Linked DNA regions of Homo sapiens: all the other regions are linked to region 2. Evidence: promoter capture Hi-C in 16 types of primary human blood cells and fetal thymus (Javierre and others, 2016). All regions are on one chromosome and are shown on one strand. The core of a region is centred on a gene start or on the middle of the fragment in contact, and the rest is flanking DNA. Distances in the headings are between cores, read along the strand shown. Region 1 overlaps SLIRP-OT1 (SLIRP overlapping transcript 1). Region 2 holds the start of SPTLC2 (serine palmitoyltransferase long chain base subunit 2). Region 3 overlaps VIPAS39 (VPS33B interacting protein, apical-basolateral polarity regulator, spe-39 homolog).

Region 1 (3,045 bases), core at 250-2,749, 150 kb after region 2:
AGTGCTGGGATTATAGGCCTGAGCCACTATGCCCAGCCTCAATTTACTTTCAAATAGTTTATCTCAACAACAAAAAATGTGTGTGTGTGTGTGTTTATAGTGAGAGAGTGTGAGAGAGCATGAAAGGGAAAGCAAAATGTTAACAATTATTTAAGCTTAGATGGGGGAGTGTGGACTGTATAGGTGTTTATTGAACTATTGTTTCAACTTTTATATATATATGAAAATTATCTCTTTTTTTTTTTTGAGACAGGGTCTCACTCTGTTGCTCAAGCTGGAGTTCAGTGGTATGATCACGGCTCACTACAGCCCGAATCTCCCAGGCTCAAGCGATACTCCTACCTCAGCCTCCCAAGTAGCTAGGACTACAGGCATGTGCCACCAGGCCTGGCTAATTTATTTTTTGTAGAGACAGGGTCTCACTATGTTGCCCAGGCTGGTCTTGAACTCCCGGACTGAAGTGATCCTCCTGCCTGGCATCCCAAAGTGATGTAAGCCACTGCACCCAGCCCTGAAAATTTTTATAATAAAAATTTAAGAAGAGGAAAGTTGTAGAACTCACATTTCCCAATTTCAGAAACCTACTACAAAGCTGCAGTAATCAAGACAGTGTGGTACTGGCATAAGGATAGATTCATAGATCAATGGAATAAAATTGAGAGTCCTGAAATAAACCCATATGTTTATGGTGAACTGATTTTTGACAAGGGTACCAAGACCATCTAAAACTATTATTGACATAGTTTTTTCAACAAATGGTGCTGGGAAACTGTATGTCTAAATGCAAAAGAATGCAGTTGGACCCTTGCTTCACGCCCTATACAAAAATTAACTCAAAATAACTCAAAGACCTAAATGTGAAAACTAAAACTATAAAACTCTTAGAAGAAAACACAGGGGTCAATCTTCATGATCTTGGATTTGGCAAAGAATTCTTAGATAAGATACAAAAAGCATAAACAACAAAGGAAAAAATAGAAAAATTGGACTAAATCAAAAGTTAAGGTTTTGTGCTTCAAAGGACATCATCAAGAAAGTGAAGGGCCGGGCATGGTGGCTCACGCCTGTAATCCCAGCACTTTGGGAGGCCGAGGCAGGCGGATCACGAGGTCAGGAGATCGAGACGATCCTGGCTAACATGGTGAAACCCCATCTCTACTAAAAATACAAAAATTAGCCGGGTGTAGTGGCGGGCACCTGTAGTCCCAGCTACTCAGAAGGCTGAGGCAGGAGAGTGGCGTGAACCCAGGAGGCAGAACTTGTAGTGAGCCAAGATTGTGCCACTGCACTCCAGCCTGGGCAACAGAGCGAGACTCCGTCTAAAAAAAAAAAAAAAAAAAAAGAAAGAAAGTGAAAAGTCCCAAGACCTTCAGGCAAACAAAGACATTCCTATTAGGCATGACATTTCAGGAGTTTAGAGATTACTTCCAAGAAGCTAAGGACAAAAGCCAGATCTCTCTTTGGACAAGGTTAAATTTGTTACTACAGAAGCCTTGAAAACATTATGCTAAATGAAAGAAGCCTGTCACAAAAGACCAGATATTGTATTATTACCTTTATATAAAATGTTCAGAATAAACAAATCCTGTGGGGGTGTTAGGAAAGGTCAATAATTGTTAATGGGTATGAGTTTCTTTTGGGGGAGGGTTGAAAAATTAGTGGTGACGGTTGTTCAACTTTGAATATACTAAACGCCTCTAATCTGCATACTTTAATAAGGTGATTTTATGGTGCGTGAACTACATTTCAATAAAGCTGTAGAAGCAAAGTTAAGTAAAATGCAAAAGTAATAAAATGAATAAGTGAATAAAAAGTATAATATAGTATCTCTTCATTTTTTTCCAAATGAAATTTAGAATTATTTTGTGCATTCTATTGAAAAATATCTGTAGGCATTTTGATTGGCGTTGAATTGTCCATAAATTAATTTTGAGAGAGCCAATATCTTTACAATTTTATGTCTTCTCACTCAAGAACACTGGTTTTGGTTTTGGTTTTTGAGTTGGAGTCTTGCTCTGTTGCCTGGGCTGGAGTGCAGTGGACGATCTTGGCTCCCTACAACCTCTGCCTCCTGGGTTCAAGAGATTCTCCTGCCTCAGCCTCCTGAGTAGCTGAGATTACGGGCATGCACCATCACACCTGGCTAATTTTTGTATTTTTAGTAGAGACGGGGTTTCGCCATGTTGGCCAGGCTGGTCTCGAACCCCTGAACTCAAGTGATCTGCCTGCCTTGGGCTCCCAAACTGTTGGGATTACAGGCGTGAGCCACTGCTTTTGGCCAGGAACACTGTTTAGATTTTAACTTATTAAAATCTTCCTTCATATCTTTCAATAACATTTTGAAGTTGTCTTTATATAGATTGTACACATCTTTCAGGATATTAATTTTGGTATTTCATTTTTAAAATCATGAATGCAATCTCTGTTTTTATATGATTACTAAATAGAACAGTAATTTTTATTAAGTAAGTCAAAAATGTTCTGAAACATGTCAGTCATTTTATAGGCAGAATCAATTTTTTTAATTTTTATTTTTTATTTTTTACAGGCATGATCAACCAGGTACAGAATCAGTTTTTTGGCTGTAGATGATTTAAGAGTTAGGGTCAACTTGTCTTTGGTGAGATGTGCTCCTCTATCTTCTTCTGGAATTAAGCAGTTCTTTGGGTTGATGAGTAGGAAAGCAGTTTTGCTGTCAGCTACTTCCCTCCATGAGTTCTGAGACTTCCTGTTTAAAAGCACTACGAAACCTGCTGACCCCACTTCTTTCCCGATTTAATTATTCTTTTTGAAAGTTGGCTCTAACCTTAAGGGTTGTGAAAACACAAGGATCCAGTGTGGTTGAAGCTTTAGAACTAAGAAAACCATTCCTTTTTCTATCAAACAGCCTGGCAGGGGAACAGTTTGCCCCTTGCCCTGAGCCCTGTCATTTGTTTTGATCATTTTCATTCCTATCAAATGTGCTGTTGGCCCAGAAGGCAGCCATCTGATAGCTGAAGTGACTGCCTACATTTCTTCCCTCTCTTCTCCAGTAACAAGATATTC
Region 2 (3,188 bases), core at 335-2,834:
GTTAAATTTCCCTATTACATTCTATACCACAACAATTTTGTCTTATAAGTCGTTTACATTGCTAGGAAAACGACAAACTATTCCACTGCTTATAATGAGCTGACTGTTATCACTTCCTCCCTCACACAATTATTTCTTTAAAAGTGAAAACAAATCTTTTGATCTGTGTATTACTTCGCTTTGACACCTTACAACTTCAGGGGAGGTCAAGTCTGCTTTACTTATTTTTCCCCTCAACTCAGTCTCAATATCTCAACATGACCTGGAAAAATGCTTTATTTTCTGCTTCGCAGCAAACAGTAACAGACCTATCCATCATAACTACTCATCTGGGGAGTAGTTATGTTAAAGCCAAATTAAGATCACCATCCTATCAAACTGCAACAGTCACACTCCCGCTAAAGGGAAACAGAGTACTTTCTAAGCGTTCCTTAATATCTGTACAAGACTTAAACGTATTAAAGTCAACTGCAAAATTATCGCAACACTCTCTTCCAGGAACACCGATCTTGCATCTTTTTAACCAGCTCATCTTTAAAAACACATTTCAACAGAATATCTGTCAGTCCAGACCACTGTAAGGTTGATAATAAGCATTGTCTTGAATTTAGAACTTTTCAAAATATTTTAGAACTGCCTGAACTTGGTTGATGATTCAGCATGGTTAATTAGTATAGAGTCATCGCAAGTCACCACCAGGCTAAACAATCCCCTTGTGTGATAGCACTCGTGTTCAGGAAAGGGTCGAAGGGGCCACCTAATCCAACCTGGAGCCTGGGGTAGAGTCTCACCACCGGCAGAGTTAAGAGAATGATGCTTTCGAGGGACCAGCTTGGATTCCCTGCCAGATCTATGGACCAATGTCCTGGTTGGGGACTGAACGTGGTAGTCCAGAATGTGGTTGGGAGAGGCTGGGTGTGTTTCCATCTGACACCACCGCCTAATTTTCTTTGCTTCTTAAGGACCCCATGGGTGGTTTTCTTTGGACGACTGCAGGACTTTAAAAGGAAGCAATAACCTCAGGGGTTTGAGAAGGGACCCTCCGGAGCCCTTGGGCGGCTCCCACTGGAGTCCGAAGGGCCCCTCATCGCTTCCCCTGGGGACAGCACACACTTCTGGCAGAATGGGGCAGAGAAAAGTACCCGGAGCTCTGAGCAGAACCCAGAGCTCCGGGAGTAAGACCTCCAGGCGCGGAGAGGTGGGGAGCCCCCGAGCCGTCCTTGAGCCTCCAGGCTCGTGGAGGTCGGGCCAGCGGCCGGACACTGCCGCCCACACCTGCGAACGGCGCCCGCCCCGCGGATTGCCCAGCGGATGGCCCGGAGACCTCGCCCCGCCCGGCCGCCCCTCCGCCAGTCCACACCGCCACCCCGGCCCCGCCGCGCGGGCCCCTCGTACCTGGCCGGCGGCGGCTGCGGCTGCGGCTGCAGCGCTGCTCCTCACGTACCCGTTCCGTACTTCCCCGTTCGCCACGCAGCCATTCGCCCGCACCGTGCGGCGGCAGCAGCAGCCTCCGGGCTCCGGCCGCATCTTCCTGGCAGCACCAGGCGCAAGGCAGGCTCTGTAGGCGGTGGCAGCGGCGGCGGCTGCTCCAAGTCCCGCTCCGCACCCCACCCACCTCCCCGAAACCGGAAATGGCTGCAGCGCCGCCGCCAATTCCCGGGCGGGCCTTCACAGAGGGCGGGGCCCTCTCCGCAGAGGACCGGTCTCGGCCAAGGCCACGCAGCGAAGGGAAAAAGCGGCGGGGACCTGCCGAGAGGGATGTGGTCCTGAGGACCGCTGACCAATCTGGAAGAGAAGGAGGCGGACCCCATGCTGCTGCCTGGCCAATCACGGACGAGAGCAAAGCGCCTCGCCGGTGGAGAGGGGGCTTCTCTAGAGGGACTCCAGGGCCTGGCACCTGATTGGAGGCCGCATCCAGGTCCGGGGTAGGGCTTGCCTGTTTAATGGTCCAGACCGAGGAGGAGGCGGAGCCCAGGGAAAAGTAGCCAATTAGAGTGTGAGGAAATAAAAGGGGCTGAGCCGAAGTCTCTAGAGCGGGTTCCCAGGTTCTCCAGGACAGGTGGCGCCCTCTTTGCCCTTGCCTCGTGGGAAGTTTTGGAGTTTATGTCCTAGCCCAAGACAGGCAGCTCGCTTATTTAATTAGCTGATTCCTCTGTGAGTGTTTATAGAATAGATTTTTTGACAATCTCTCATCATTCTTCAATATGCGCCACACATTCACTATTTCTGAATTATTATAAGTAATAATTCAGATGCCTTTTCACGTGCCCTTCACATTTGCCCTTGGCAGGGTTTTCTATACAGTCTCCTTTAAATTAAGTCTTTCCTTCAAAGTTAGAAAACCTGGTCTAATTCCAACTCTGCCAATAACTGGAAGCTAAAACTTGAGCACTGTGTTTAACCACTTTAGAAGCCAAATTCTTTAAAATGGAGTTAATACTTCCTGCTTCATAGACTTACAGCAAGAATTATATCATTAACCCATTATGCACCTCTTATAATACTAGGCTTATAGTAGGAGTATAATAAATATTATTTTCTCACCCTTTTAGTTCCATCTTCCCATGGGGTTAGAAAGCAAGGAAATTGATCTACATTACAATTAGAGACTTTCTGTTATCCATAAAGAATTTAGTATCATAATTGAGAGTATGGACTCTGGAGTCGGTCTGGGTTTTAAATCCTAGCTGCGCCACTTACTAGCTGAGTGACCTCTATGTGTCTTCATCTGTTCAGTGGGGACAATAATAGTTGTCGTGAAGATTGAATAAGTTTATGTATGTAATGTATTTTGTACAGGACCTAGCAATTAGTAAGCATTCATTAAGTGTTGGTTACTAGTAATTGCTAAATGCACCTATGAGAATCCGTGCATTCTTTCCCCACCCTGCAGGAGCTTTAGAAAGGAGGTCCACAAGGTATTGGTTTTGCATGACTTAGGAGCTGAATAATCTAACAGAAGGTGGGATCATTCATCCCACACATCCTATTTGAGTTGACAAACACTATTGATCCCAAAGTGAATATACATCTGTATGTATAAGGCTAAAAAGGAAACATGTGGCTGTGCTTCATGGAGCTTACATTTCAGTGAGAGACAAGATATACACATAGAAAGAAAACAATAGTTAAAGACCAACCTAAGGCTGGAGAGATTAGGCAACAGGAGTTCTGATGAGGGAAGCTGA
Region 3 (3,034 bases), core at 309-2,808, 190 kb before region 2:
AATATCTGTGGGAAGAGGTACTTCCGATTAATGATTCAAACACCCATAAGGCACAGAGCTCTACAAGGTAGAAAAGAAAGTCCTGAAGAAGGCAAAAGAGTTCAATAGCTAATGTTTCCAGTTTCCATCATCAACCACAGGACTAGTTCTGCAATGGGAATGAGGTAACGCTACACAGTACTTCCATGCTGCCTCAGTAAGCAGGAAAGAGCACACTTCTCCTGATCCTCGAGCCAGATACACATGCCAGCAATGAGTGCTCTAGCTGTGATCCAGTGCTCTGCTCATTTCTCCCTGATGTCTTTTCTCCACGAGTTCTCCTTTTCTATCATTTGAACAGTACATCAGTATTCCACTTGGGCTAACACAGTAGATGCTACTCAGAGAGGACAGTTTGGAATTGTTTCTAAAGGGGAGAAAGGGAGAGAATTTCACTCCCTGGCCTTTTCTGTCTTGAGGCCTATTGCAGCCATTGTGCTGCCTTTAAGGGAAAACAAGAGCAGATCGGGTCTCCCATCACTGACCAGTAAGAGGCTTAAAGTTAGGTCTCCAAGAATATCCTGTACCCAACTCTCTTCAGGACCCATTACCTGCACAGGGGCATTGTTCTTGTGCAAAATTTCGACAACCCGATGGAAGCCAATGGGTGCTCTCTTCTTGGTATAGCCCAGCCAGTTCTGAAAGAGGAAGATGGGGTAGCGGCAGGTAGGCCAGGCACACTCAACACATTCTAGGTTAGTCTATGTTTTACGATCAGACCAGAATAATGTGGTGGGTGAGTGGGGGTGCTGAGGGATACAGAAATAATGAGAAATGAATTTTTCAGAAAAATCAAGGGATTTGAGAGAGTGGAAATGAATCAGGTTTGAAATAACTTCTTAGATCTATAGAAACGAATGCAGGGAAAAGTCTTGAAATACTACTAAATGGGATAAGTAACTTACTTAATATTTGTAGTATGAACTTATCAATGTAGAAAATAATTCCATCTTCCATATCTTTGTAAGTACAGATGTTTATTTGCAAATTCATGAGGGAAGGTCTGGAAAGCTACCCATTAAACTTTTAACAGTGTTTGCCTTGAGAAAGGGGGTGAGATAGGAGTAGGTAGAAAATGAAAAAGGAACTTCACTCTTTCTATACTTTAATACAGTGTTTGATTTTGACAACAGACACATATTGCTTTGTTAATATAACTAATTAAATAATTAACAAATAGGAAAAACAGAAAATTTTTAAACCCATAATGGAAAAACAGATATTTAAAACGTAAACTAATTCATATTGAACCGCCAAAGATCCCACATAGCCAAAGCAATCAATGTTAAAGAAAAACAAAATGGAGGCCAGGTGCGGTGGCTCATGTCTGTAATCCCAGCACTTTTGGAGGCCGAGGTGGGCGGATCACTTGAGGCCAGGAGTTCGAGACCAGCCTGGCCAACATGGTGAAACCCCATCTTTACTAAAAATACAAAAATTAGCCGGGCAGGGTGGCGCATGCCTTTAATCCCAGCTACTCGGGAGGTTGAGGCAGGAGATTCAGTGGAACCCTGGAGGCAGAGGTTGCAGTGAGCTGAGATTGCACCACTGCACTCCAGCCTGGGTGACAGAGCAAGACTCTGTCTCAAAAAAGAAAAAAAAAAAAAAAGGGGGGGTAGGGGTAGGAGGCAACATGCTTCATGATTTCAAATTATATTACAAAGTTACATATATTAATCAAAACAGTACGGGGCTGGCATAAAAACAAACACATAGACCAGTGGAATAGAATAGAGAGCCTAGAAATAAACCCAAGCATATATGGTCAGCTAATTTTCAACAAAAGCACCAAGAGGACCCAATGGGGAAAGGATAGTCTCTTCAATGAGTGGTGCTGGGAAAACTGGATTTCCACATGCAAAAGAATGAAATTAGACCTTTATCTTACACCATACACAAAAATCAACTCAAAATGGATAATATACCTAAGCATAAGACCTGAAGCCATAAAACTCATAGAAGAAAACATGGGAAAAAGCTCCTTGACATTGGCCTTGGCAATGATTTTTTTGGATATCACACCAAAGGCTCAGGCTACAAAAGCAAAAATAAATGGGATTACATCAAACTAAAAAGCTGCGCATGGCAAAGGAAACAATCAAAATGAAAGGCAGCCTATGGATTAGAATATTTGTAAACCACATATCTGATAAGGGATTAGTATCTAAAACATATAAAGAACTCACACAATGCAATAGCAGAAACAAAAATTGCCAGATTTAAAAATGGGCAAAAGACTTGAATGGACATTTCTCCAAAGAAGACATGGAAATGGCCAAGAAGTACATGAAAAGGTGATCAGTATCACTAAACATCAGGGAAATGCAAATCAAAACTATAATAAGATATCACCTCACACCTGTTAAGATGACTGTTATCAAAAAGACAAATGATGTGTTAGCAAGGGTGTGGGGAAAGGGAACTCTTGTACCCTGTCGGTGGGAATGTAGATTGGTGTAGCCAATGTGGAAAACAGGCTGCAGTGAGCTACGGTCATGCCACTGCACTTCAGCCTGGGTGACAGAGTGAGACCCTCTCTCAAAAAAGTAAAAATAAAAATAAAAATAGAACTATCATATGACCCAGTAATCAATCTTTCTTTTGGGTATATGCCCAAAATAAATGAAATCATCACCTCATAAAGATACTTGCATTTCCACATTCATTGTAACACTATTCATGAGATGTTAACTATTCATGAAATGTAACTATTATAAATTATTGCTGAGAATTTAAATATCTGTAACTTACAAAAATAATAAACAAATAAATAATTCCCTCTCCCTAAAAAATAGCCAAGATAAGGAAACAACTTAAGTGTCCATTGACAAACAAATGGATACAGAAACTATGGAACTATGGTATATATATACATACATGCTGGAATATTAGCTTTAGAGATCTAATTACAAGATGAGGACTGTAGTTAATAGTACTGTACTGTAATCAGGAGTTTTGCTAAATGAGTAGATTTTAGCTGTTTTTGCCACAAAAA

Evidence for each region. Contacts are between HindIII fragments. The CHiCAGO score rates a contact against its expected background, and 5 or more counts as called.
Region 1: a contact is called between a fragment that was not itself captured here and the fragment with the promoter of SPTLC2 in region 2, in 2 of 17 cell types (total CD8 T cells and naive CD8 T cells). The highest score is 6.1, in total CD8 T cells.
Region 3: a contact is called between a fragment that was not itself captured here and the fragment with the promoter of SPTLC2 in region 2, in 1 of 17 cell types (neutrophils). The highest score is 6.1, in neutrophils.

What each region holds. Positions count from the first base shown.
Region 1 is chr14:77,765,904-77,768,948 of GRCh38, forward strand. All of the region lies in intron 1 of SLIRP-OT1 (SLIRP overlapping transcript 1), which reads left to right. Among named protein-coding and RNA genes, the nearest start is that of SNW1, 6.3 kb to the left of the region's middle. The HindIII fragment of the contact is 2,692 bases long and covers 154-2,845 here.
Region 2 is chr14:77,615,053-77,618,240 of GRCh38, forward strand. SPTLC2 (serine palmitoyltransferase long chain base subunit 2) reads right to left here and starts at 1,585. Exons shown (of 12, transcript NM_004863.4): 1 at 1,396-1,585. The coding sequence starts at 1,527. RefSeq lists enhancers at 842-1,051, 1,380-1,912 and silencers at 1,232-1,431, 1,572-1,621, 1,952-2,011. The HindIII fragment of the contact is 6,254 bases long and covers 1-3,188 here.
Region 3 is chr14:77,429,091-77,432,124 of GRCh38, forward strand. VIPAS39 (VPS33B interacting protein, apical-basolateral polarity regulator, spe-39 homolog) reads right to left here. Exons shown (of 20, transcript NM_001193315.2): 17 at 591-677; 18 at 1-5. Among named protein-coding and RNA genes, the nearest start is that of NOXRED1, 7.1 kb to the left of the region's middle. The HindIII fragment of the contact is 6,466 bases long and covers 1-3,034 here.